4 separate regions of the Homo sapiens genome follow, and all the other regions are linked to region 4. Evidence: promoter capture Hi-C in human tissues and cell types (Jung and others, 2019). All regions are on one chromosome and are shown on one strand. Each heading gives the region's core, a stretch centred on a gene start or on the middle of the fragment in contact. The rest is flanking DNA. Distances are from core to core; before and after follow the strand shown. Region 1 overlaps CIAPIN1 (cytokine induced apoptosis inhibitor 1). Region 2 overlaps RSPRY1 (ring finger and SPRY domain containing 1). Region 3 holds the start of POLR2C (RNA polymerase II subunit C). Region 4 holds the start of CCL22 (C-C motif chemokine ligand 22).

Region 1 (2,700 bases), core at 102-2,601, 75 kb after region 4:
AAGGTCACTATAGCTGTTCACACCCAAACTGGGGCCTGAAAGAAAGCAATCAAGTGACAATGCTGCCAGCTCACCATGCTGTCGTCCTCCATATCGTTGGCTGAGAGGGTCCACAGCTTGGCAGCAGCAGGGTCCACAGCAGGTTTCACTGAGTCCAAGCAATAAAAGAAAAAACTCCATAAACACAGTCAGAAACTATTAATTACAAACATACATAAATGCTTCCTGCTGTGTAGAAGAGAACACACTGGCCTGGGAGGCAGAAGATGTGGGTTCACAGTCCAGCTCTACCCCTCTGAGAGGTCTGACCTTGGGCCAACCACTTGCTGATAGTTACAGAAGTCACCATTTGCTAAGCTCTTGCTTTGCACCAGGCACCATATTAAGCACTTATATACATTATCTAACTTAATTCTGCTGACAACCTTATGAGGTAACTATCTGTCATCCTACTTTTACCGCTGAGGAAACAGGTTTAGACACTTAGGCTGGTTCCACAGGCTGCAAAGCCTGTCTGATGCTTTTAACCTCCATTCCATATTGCTTCCTCCTCGATACCTTAGTTTCCATTCTATAACATGAAGTTAAATTGTACTTCCTATGTTACTGCAGGTGTTTTGAGGATTAAATGAGAAATGTGTCAAAACCTTCAAAAATAGCAGAGCTTTAGCCTCATGTAAACCTGCTACATACAAGAAAATAGGCTCTAGAGCTGCTGGTGGCAAGGTAACACCATCAGTGGCAGACAAACCTCACACTTCCTGGTTCTCTGTCTAGTCAGGAGAATGCAAGGAAGAGGCAGAGAGCTGAGGCTCGGATGCAGTGTGGGCAAATCCTCGCAGGCCCTTGGGGTAAGAGTACCCTCTAGTGATCATTGTCACAGCTGGATGCTCATACCTTCCACAAGGCCAACTGTTCTAAGCTATTCCTACCCATTCTGGAACCATGAATCGAAAGGTTAGATTCCAAAGGATTTCTTGAAGATTTAGGTTAGACAGTCAAAACCGTACAAGTGGGAATGTACCAGTAAATATCTGTTAATGTCTGCATACCTCACAGCTGGGTCAATTCAGGCATTTAAAAATAGGGATAGGAAGGATGAGGATGGAGCTGTGTGTGTGTGTGTGTGTGCGTGCGCGTGCGTGCACGCGTGTGCTTGTACACAATTTTCTAGTCAGAAGAAATATAGTTTTATAAGTGTCTTAGCATCCTCAAAGTAAGAACAGCTGATTTTCCTGGCATGGGGAAAAAAGCACATGAGAACAGGAACAGGGCACTCTCATACACCATTACCACTACACTGTGAGGTCTTCTGAGGAGAAACGTTAATTCTGGGACCTGGAAGGACCTCATTAATTAAACTGTGTGACTCAGTCCTGTAAAATTAGGAGGCCTCGGTATCTTCTGGTGCAGAAGAAGGAGCTGAACTAGATAATACCTATGTATTATTTCAGTTTTGGATCCTAATATGCCCATGATAATAGTACATTAAGTATTCTTCTTTGTGGAAATGGCAGAAATCAAAGGACTAATCCTCTAAAAATATCACCATCTCATTTATTGCTGGCTCAATTTCTAACATGTCCCTCTAAGCCCATTCAAACAGAAGAATGTCCCTAGGCCAGCCTTACCTGAAGGAGAAGACTTCTTGGTGATGGAAAGCTTAAGCTGCCTAGAAGAACCCACTTCAAAGTTTGGTTTTTTGCCTGTGATCTGAACAAACAGCAGGTTGTCACTTTCATGACCAAGGTGTTCTCGAACAGACTGTACTTCCTCAGGGGTTAGGGGCTCCCGCTGCAGCTAGAATTCAAGACATCAAAAGGATTAGTTCACCCTCCTCTGTAAAATGGTTTACTATGTCTACCTACACAGGAGTCAAAGACTCATTTCTGTGCATTAAGGATGTAACAGTGGATGGTAACAGATAACACTTTATGCCTCACATTCAGTTTCTCACTGATCAGAACCCTAGAGTATAACCTTTGTCTGCATGTTTACTTGGAGCCTACCCCTTGGAAAATGTAAAAGTACTTAAAAAACATTAGGGATGAGGCATATACTAGTTATTTGGGATGTAATACAATTATGAAAATGAACCAGATGTGGTCCTACTGTGTAACAGGAAAGAATGCCCACAATGAAGACAGCAGAAATTTATATCCCAAAAGAAAAAGGGGGAGGAAAATCCTTTCTATGTTCCTTGGGATAAAGTAGCAGAGAGTAAAGGTAGAAAAAAAGGGTCAGGGTGCCACCTCTATGTCCAATAATTATAGACTGGTTACATAAATCACAGTCCATCTATTGTATGGAATACTATTACATCATTAATATGAATGAAGGGAAATACACTGAAGTAGGTAAGTGTCTATGATATCTAAGGGTGGGAAAAAAGGTGATTGAACAATGTATACTTATGATCTTATTTACATTTTTAAAAAAGTATGTGCATGTAGATGCTTGTAAATACATAGGAAAAGGTCTGAACGGACATACAAAAAGGCATTGGTGGCTTCCTCTGGGGAGGGAAGTGTGAGCAAGAAGTGGGATGTCACTTTATATTCTGTATGCTTTGGTGTAAAGTGAATTTTTATGAGGAGTCTGATATAGTTTGGATATGTGTCCCCTCTAAATCTCATGTTGAACTGTAATCCCCAATGTTGGAGGTGGGGCCTGGTGAGAGGTGACTGGATCATGGGGGCA
Region 2 (2,700 bases), core at 71-2,570, 130 kb before region 4:
AAACTATCCCAAAGTTTGATACAGGAAGATAAGGCAGAATATTCTCTAGTCACAGACCTGTGTGGGTTATAAACACAGTCTGTCACTCTTCCTTTCTGCCAGGGTAGGATTGACTCACCCTGCCTTTCTGAAAACTGTTCTATCTATTAACTCTATTTTGATTTTTATTAATTCTATTGGCCTCTGTACTCATTTTATTTGTAGATCTGGATTTTTTGCTGCAGCTAGTTTCATGTCATATCAACAATGTGAGTTCAATTTTGGAGCAAAACCATTCAAATACCCACCATCTATGAAATTTAGCACTTTTAATGACTACGCCTTCCTAACAGCTGAAGAAAAAATCATTTTGCCAAGGTAAGGAATCTGCCCAGGCTATCTCCAGACTTTCACATGAATCTTATGAGAAATTAAACAATTTATAATCAACGTTAAAAGAATATAACAAATAAATTTTGAAAACCTGAGTAAAATGGATGACTTTTCAGGAAATATAAATTTCTAAGATCGCAGAAGAAATATACACAAACCAATTATTGTATATATCTGTCCCTAGAAAGCACCAGACCCAGGTGGTTTCACAGGGGATCTCTACCAAATCTTTAGGTAACAGATAACCTTATTGTTATTTAAAATGTTACCAAACCCAGAAAGACGGAACACTTTCAAATTTTTTTTGTGAGATAAATAAGATTGGTATAAAAATCAGAAAAATATGACACATGCACACAAACTGCAAACTAACTTCACGTGAATGTCAGTGTCAAAATCCTAAATATTAGGAAATCTAGTACATCTTTTAGCAGACTCGGCTTTATTGAAACAGACTTTTTATGTGGTTTCAACTGTGTGGCAAAGATGACAACACTGTTCCACAACCATCAGTGAATACCATCTTGCATAAAATTTTACAGCCCTTATTTGACAAAAACTGTGATTGGCATTAATTTATCAGATGAATGCCTGCTTTACTTCCTTGTGAGATGAATGTAGTCTATTCCTTAGGCTGGGGAAAGACTCCAGCTGCTTCCTGGTAATTACTTCAAGTTGAAGCTTGTTTCACAATGTGAGCTAAAGTTTATCATTTTAAACAGAGCAGCTGCCTGTTTAAAGGGTATTCCTGTTACTAATACCACATATCTTATATCAGTAAGAGAGTCTCTCTCAGCAGCCAAGGCCAGCATACTGGCCATGACATAGCTAATGTCGGACTGGTATGCCCCTGAAGATATCTGTAACGTAATCCTAGCTCTTGTTTTGGCTCAAAAAGCAGATCTGCAAGCAGTGCTCTGGGCTGTGCTTCACCTTGGAATCACTGTCTCAGTGGTTCAATAGTTTCCAGATGAACTAGAAAATGGGACGATGATGGTAGTGTTGTCTGCAGATGGTAACACTGGCAGCAGAGCCTCAGTAATAGCCCAAGAACATAAGGGTTGCATATGTTCCCGCTCAGGGTTCTGAGGTTAATTCCTAGAACTTTTCATTCAGGCTCATCCTTGGTGCCTGACAGAGATTCTGAACTTTAAATTCCTCTTGGCCAAAGTCTGAGGGGACACCTCTCCCTTATCTATCATACCCCGTTCTTTTTCATCTAGCCTGCCTTTTCCTTGGATGAAGCCCACAAATAAGTCTTCTCACATATACCCTAAAAGGGACAATTGATCCATCTAAGTTCCCATGGGGACTGGACATAGTTAAAATGCTTCAGCATTTAGTTAACTGCTCCTGCAGAATTAAACCTTCCCAAACTCAGATGGCAATGGGCATCAACTATCAGAAAGTCTCATTTTATGGGCAGCTTATACATACTCTCTTGGTAACCATGTATATAAATTTGGTACCCAAAGTTCGTCTTGTCTTGAATAAGAACAGCTGAATTCCAAGCTAGGTCAATCCTATGCTGTCTCTAGACTGTTTTCTCTGATAGTAACAAGAAGATATAGTTGTCAGGAGCCTAACTGAGTGGCCACCTTAGTGCCAACCTCCTTCTTGCACCTTGCTGCCCTTAACATTCCAGTTGTGCTTAATTATAAATTGTGGCATTAAGTATGAACTTACTTGAGACCATTTTCTGTGCCATTAATATTTTCATCCTGTGTTCCAAAAATGTATATTCAGTGATACTTTATATTCATTGGAATATTACTCCTTTCTGGCATCAGGGTAGGAGCTCATGGCCCTGTTACTACTAACTGGGATTTTATAAATTGTTCTGTGTTGTATATACTCTCTGTCTGTAATTCTTCCATTCATTCTTTTTTTCTTTAACCTTTTTATTATGGAAAATTTCAAATACATACAGAAGAAAAAAATAATAGTACAGTGAAGCACCACATACCCACTCTCAGCTACAAGTCATCCACTCACAGCCACTGCTTCTCCCTCAGTCTTCTCTCATCTCTGTTTTTTTAATTTTTATTTTTTATTTTTTGAGACAGGGTCTCACTCTGTTGCCCAGGAGTGTGGTGGCACAATCTCAGGTCATTGCAACCTCCATCTCCCAGGCTCAAGCGATCCTCCCACCTCAGCCTCCTGAGTAGCTGGGACTACAGGCATGCCAACACACCCAGCTAATTTTTGTATTATTTGTAGAGACTGGGTTTCGCCATGTTGCCCAGGCTGGTCTCGAACTCTTGGGTTCAAGCCATCTGCCTGCCTCGGCCTCCCAAAGTGCTGGGATTACAGGCGTGAGCCACTGTG
Region 3 (2,700 bases), core at 19-2,518, 100 kb after region 4:
TGCGTCTCTGGGCTCAAGTCTTCCCATCAGTAAAATACGGGTAACAGAAGCCTTCCCACAGACCATCAGCTCCCTTGGCTGCTCTTGTCTGACGATTTTAGTGGTACATTCTTTAGCCCCAGTAATTTTCTCAGCCTCTACACTGGCTGGGTTCCCTTTGCACGTCTGGTTAGCTCTGTTTTCTGCTTTGCTCTCTTCTGCCTGTCAGCTGAATATTAATGGGGGAAAGTCAGCAACTAATTGAATTTCAGATCTCTTGTGGGTCTTCCACTGGATCTTTTTTGCACCTCTCAATTCCTTGTATCTCTTGACATCCTGTGAAGTTTTCGCAGTAGCTGTTCCAGTTTTCATTGCATTCTCCTTTTTCCTTCATAGCATCCATCTTACACTCAGCAGACAACCATAATTCTTAATTTACCAAGATGACACAGGTTATGGAGCAGGGTTCCATCAGTGCCCACCCTCTGTTTCAGGAAGAGGTGTCACTCTTTGCAAAGGCAAACTCCTCTTTATCTGGTTACTCTTCTCCCAACTCTTAAATGTATTTCCTGCCACGTTCTATTTTAGAGCTTTTCTCTGTTGGAGCAGCAGCCACTTTTTTTGAGGCCCATTTAAACCTCTCTCCAGTCTGTTTAGGGGACTTCAGTAGTTCTTTGTTGAGCATGCACCCCACATGGTGCCCACTGCCAGGCACTGGGGATGCAGAGACAAAGAGTTCCCACTCACCCACCACAGCTACACAGACTGTAGAGGAAGCATTAGGTTAAAGAACATTGTATCTTTTCCTGAAGTTTTCAGAAGTGCATGGTCCATACTTGAGACTGCAAGGGAAAGGGTATTTACTTATAATTCAGGTATACTTTGCTAAAATATACATTCATATTAAAATATACTTTTGTTTTTCTATAGATGTACAAGTTCTTTTTAAGTGCTTCATAGTATTCCATGTGTGTATACTCCACCAGGTCTCTTATCAATGGACAGTACAAACAGTACTACCACGAACGTCCCTGCACTCGTATCTTTGTTTACAACTGCAAGTGTTTCTGCAGTATGAATTCTTAGAAGTGTTACTGTTAAGTGAAGGACGTATGCGTGTTTTGCCAAACTACCCTCCGAGATAGCTGAATCTGGTACATTTTAAAGCAGGAGGCCGCAGAAGACGCTCGGCAGTTCTGGCCTCCGAGCAGCAGGCGGCGCTGTGAGTCGTCTTTGCGGAAGCCGCGGAGGCCTCGCTGACTGACTTCCGGTGTTGGCGGTGGCGCCGCGCAGTCACCGCGGAGCAGACGCGGAGGCTGGTGGCCCCTGGGCGAGATGCCGTACGCCAACCAGCCTACCGTGCGGATCACGGAGCTCACTGACGAGAATGTCAAGTTCATCATCGAGAACACCGACCTGGCGTAAGGCTACCGAGGGAAGAGGCTGGCGGCTCTGGGGCGCCGGGAGGCCCAAGCCGGGGCCCCGGGGCAGGGGGCGGGGGTGTAGTGGGGTGGGGTGGGGGCGATGTCCTTCCAGAGCTGCCCCCCTGCACCAGGGCTTTAGCTTTGGGAGCCTGCGGCGCGGGCCCAGCCTGTCGAGGCTGCAGCGCCTTCACGCCCCTTGGCTTTTGATCTTTCAGGGTGGCCAATTCGATTCGGAGGGTCTTCATCGCTGAGGTTCCCATAATAGGTAAGCGACTCCCCTTCCTCGTTCCCGCGCCCACGGGTTCCTGCCCCGCTCTCCACCCACACACTCTTTGGGGCTCCTTCCAGTCCTTGGTTCGGGCTGAGGGTGGTAGTGCTGAGAAAAGTGCATTGCTGGAGACTTGACCATACCCTGTGCCCTTGGCTCAGTGGCCGCCTCCCTGGCGCCCACGGGCCACTTAGGTCCACCCTTGTCCTGGGTATGCATTGCTGAGAAGCATGGGTTTAGCAGTGTGCAGACTTGGGTTCAAATACTGTTTTCACTACTATTGTTACAAAAGTTTTTAAAATGTTTTCAACTTTTATTTTGGAGTCAAGGGGTACATTGGTGCAGGTTTGTTGCCTGGGTATAGTGCGTGATGCTGAGATTTGGGGTATAAATGATCCTTTCACCCAGGTAGTGAGCATAGTACGCAATAGGTAGTTTTTCACCCCTAGCCCCACTGCCTCCCTTCCAGCTCTAGTAGTCACCAGTGTGTTTATTGTCATCTTTATGTCCGTGCGTACCCAGTTTTAGCTCCCATGCGGTGTTTGGTTTTCTGTTCCTGTGTTAATTCTCTTAGGATAATGGCTTCCAGGCCGCGCTCGCGCCTGTAATTCCAGCACTTTGGGAGGCCAAGACTGAGGAACACCTGAGGCCAGGAGTTTGAGACCAGCCTGGCCAACATGGGGAAAGCCCGCCTCTACTAAAAATGCAAAAATTAGCCAGGTGTGGTGGCTCCCACCTGTAATCCCAGCTACTGGGGAGGCTGAGGCAGAATTGATTGAACCCAGAAGGTGGAGGTTGCAGTGAGCCGAGATCATGCCACTGCACTCTGGCCTGGGCAATAGAGTGAGACTCCTTCTCAAACAAAAGAAAATAAAAAAGAAGATAGTGGCTTCCAGCCACGTCCATGTTGCTGCAGAGGACATGATTTCGTTCGTTCTTATGGCTGCATCACTTACTGCTTTTGTGAAACTTGGGCAAGTTATTAAACTTCTGTGTGCTGCAGTTTCCTCATCTGTAACATTCGGCCAC
Region 4 (2,700 bases), core at 186-2,685:
TACAGGCGCATGCCATCACACCCGGCCAATTTTTGTATTTTTGGTAGAGATGGGGTTTCTCCATGTTGGCCAGGCTGGTCTTGAACTCCTGACCTCAGGTGATCCACCTGCCTGGGCCTTCCAAAGTGCTGGGATTACAGTCATGAATCACTGCACCCAGCCCATGTGTTCTGAGCACCCAACATGTGCCTGATCCTCAGAGGGCCCTGGGAATGCCAAGAAAAATGAAGGGAGACCCCAGCCTCCTAGAGCTTGGAGTCTGACTTCTAGGGAGGGGCTTGAGAAAGAGAAAACCTGACCCAGTCTGCTCAGGGCCACATTCCAGGTCCCCTAGAAGGCTTTGAAGTCCTGAGAGGGTGTGCTTACCAAGGACATGACATTTCAAACAGCTTTGACGCATAAGTAGGAGTTTATGTGGTAGAGATGTGGAAAGTGACATTAAAGGCCAGGGACAGGCCGCAGTCCCTTTTGAGGAAGTGTGAGGAGTGTGGTGTGATCCCTCAGGGGAAGGAGACCAGTGGGGAAAGGCCTGTCCGGAAACGGGGCCTTGAAGGCCACAGACAGGAGCCCGGGACCTGCCTTTAGGTGAATGGGGAGCCACGGCAGGGTTCTGAAGCAGGAGAGAGAGTGTGTAGCTCTGGACCACTCACGCTGGCTGCTGCAGGGTGGGGATGGCATTGAGGAGGCCAGCATCCCAGCCTGAGGTGGAGGTGGCCTGGACTGGGCAGGAACAGTGGGGTTGGAGAGAAGGAGCAGATCTGAGAGAGATTTAGGAAGCAGAATCAACGGGACATGGACATGGTGAGGGACTGAGACAGGAGTGGGGGAGGGAGAGCCCGGCAGCCACTGGGAAGGAAGATCAGGCAGGACAGAAGTGTGGGTAGATGCTTTCCATAAACCGTTGAGAAATCCACGACCTGGCCCAAATGTGGACTTCACGAGAAGCCCCAGATGGGTCAATGGGTCCATAGGCCTCTCCCATTGAAGAGAGACCAGTAATGCCGTCATTAAGGGTACAAGACAGGCCTCAATTCTAGGTGAGGGTTGGTCCACGTTCTCACTTGATTTACAACCAGTGAAGTCAACAGAGCTGTGAAACCATCTCCCCCATTTCCAGATGGGGAAACCAAGTCCCAGAGACACCCAGACATGGCCAAGGCCACACAGTGCAGAGACCCTGGGGAGCACAAGCCTCTAAGAGGGGGATTTTACAAGTCTGTCTGAAACCAGAGGCGAGGACAGAGTTGAGGGGGGGTCCCCTCTGAGTGGTTCCCCGCCAAAGAGAATTTCTCCACTTTGGAGGAAGTGGGAGGTAGTTCTTCTTTTGAGATGTGAATGTCAAGTGACTCTGGGCACCCCGGTGACTAAGAGGTAAGTAAGTGAGGCTTGTGGGTGGAGCCAGCACCTTAAATAGCAGGTCTTCCTATGTCCCTTTGCAGACACCTGGGCTGAGACATACAGGACAGAGCATGGATCGCCTACAGACTGCACTCCTGGTTGTCCTCGTCCTCCTTGCTGTGGCGCTTCAAGCAACTGAGGCAGGTGAGGCTGGGGAGCAGGAAGACCCCCTACAGAGGCCAGGGCAGACGGTGGGGTGTCTTCCTCATGTCTTGGACAAGCACTGGACCAAGAGCAGAAGACCTCAGTCTGCTGTTGGCTCTTGCGGCCTTCGGCTAGTTGCAGTGCTTCTCTGGGCCTCAGTTTACAAGTCTGTTGAATGGGCAGTCTTGAAGACTTGGAGTCTAGGATCTGTCTCACCTGGGTTGGGGGTTGTGGTGGGCATAGCCTCGGGATCTCCTGCCCCAGAAAACTCAAGCATAGGGCCCTAGGGGTGTGGGTGAGGAGCTTCTAAGGGTCAGGTCTGAGTGGGGGAAGGCAGGGCTGGGGCAAGGGGTTCTCCCTTGGAAAGCTGGTGCTGCCCTCCCACCATCCATTTTTTAAAATGTTATTATTATTATTTTTTATTTTATTTTATTTTATTTTTTGAGACACAGTTTCACTCTTGTTGCCCAGGATGGAGTGCAGTGGGGCAATCTTGGCCCACTGCAACCTCTACCTCCCAGGTTCAAGCGATTCTCCTGCCTCAGCCTCCTGAGTAGCTGGGATTACAGGCATGCACCACCACACCTGGCTAATTTTTGTATTTTTAGTGGAGACAGGGTTTCACCATGTTGGCCAGGCTGGTCTCAAACTCCTGACCTCAGATGATCCTCCCACCTCAGCCTCCCAAAGTGCTGGGATTACAGGCATGAGCCACTGCGTCTAGCCTAAATTTATTTTTTATTTCATTTTATTTATTTATTTTTTGAGATGGAGTCTCTGTTGCCCAGGCTGGAGTGCAGTGGCGCAATCTCAGCTCACTGCAACCTCCACCTCTGGAGTTAAAGTGATTCTCCTGCCTCAGCCTCCTGAGTAGCTGGGATTACAGGCACCTGCCACCATGCCCGGCTAATTTTTGTATTTTTAGTAAAGATGGGGTTTCACCATGCTGACCGGTCTTGTCTCGAACTCCTGACCTCAAGTGAAACTCCCATCTTGGCCTCCCTAAGTGTTAGGATTACAGGCGTGAGCCACTGCTCTGGGCTCACTATCCATTTTTGTCCAGAACCTGTCCTCAGCATGGATTCCTGACTCCTCTTCTCCACCCCACTCTATACTTTTGCTGTGTTGGGTGGAGGAGTGAGCACTGGAGTGGGGTCA

Evidence for each region. The method cuts DNA at HindIII sites, captures the fragments that hold promoters and counts their contacts. A contact is called where the count stands out against the background at its distance.
Region 1: a fragment that was not itself captured here is called in contact with the fragment with the promoter of CCL22 in region 4 in 4 of the 25 tissues and cell types used here (IMR-90 fibroblasts, lymphoblastoid cells, neural progenitor cells and 1 more).
Region 2: a contact is called between a fragment that was not itself captured here and the fragment with the promoter of CCL22 in region 4, in 2 of the 25 tissues and cell types used here (IMR-90 fibroblasts and aorta).
Region 3: a contact is called between the fragment with the promoter of POLR2C here and the fragment with the promoter of CCL22 in region 4, in 2 of the 25 tissues and cell types used here (lymphoblastoid cells and mesenchymal stem cells).

Annotation. Positions count from the first base shown.
Region 1 is chr16:57,432,413-57,435,112 of GRCh38, forward strand. It overlaps CIAPIN1 (cytokine induced apoptosis inhibitor 1), which reads right to left. Exons shown (of 9, transcript NM_020313.4): 5 at 1,632-1,800; 6 at 75-148. Among named protein-coding and RNA genes, the nearest start is that of CIAPIN1, 14 kb to the right of the region's middle. The HindIII fragment of the contact is 7,381 bases long and covers 1-2,700 here.
Region 2 is chr16:57,230,963-57,233,662 of GRCh38, forward strand. RSPRY1 (ring finger and SPRY domain containing 1) reads left to right here. Exons shown (of 15, transcript NM_133368.3): 13 at 205-357. Among named protein-coding and RNA genes, the nearest start is that of ARL2BP, 13 kb to the right of the region's middle. The HindIII fragment of the contact is 8,140 bases long and covers 1-2,700 here.
Region 3 is chr16:57,461,411-57,464,110 of GRCh38, forward strand. POLR2C (RNA polymerase II subunit C) reads left to right here and starts at 1,269. Exons shown (of 9, transcript NM_032940.3): 1 at 1,269-1,400; 2 at 1,619-1,668. The coding sequence starts at 1,315. RefSeq lists an enhancer at 1,127-1,421. The HindIII fragment of the contact is 18,274 bases long and covers 1-2,700 here.
Region 4 is chr16:57,357,348-57,360,047 of GRCh38, forward strand. It overlaps CCL22 (C-C motif chemokine ligand 22), which reads left to right and starts at 1,436. Exons shown (of 3, transcript NM_002990.5): 1 at 1,436-1,542. The coding sequence starts at 1,470. The HindIII fragment of the contact is 38,120 bases long and covers 1-2,700 here.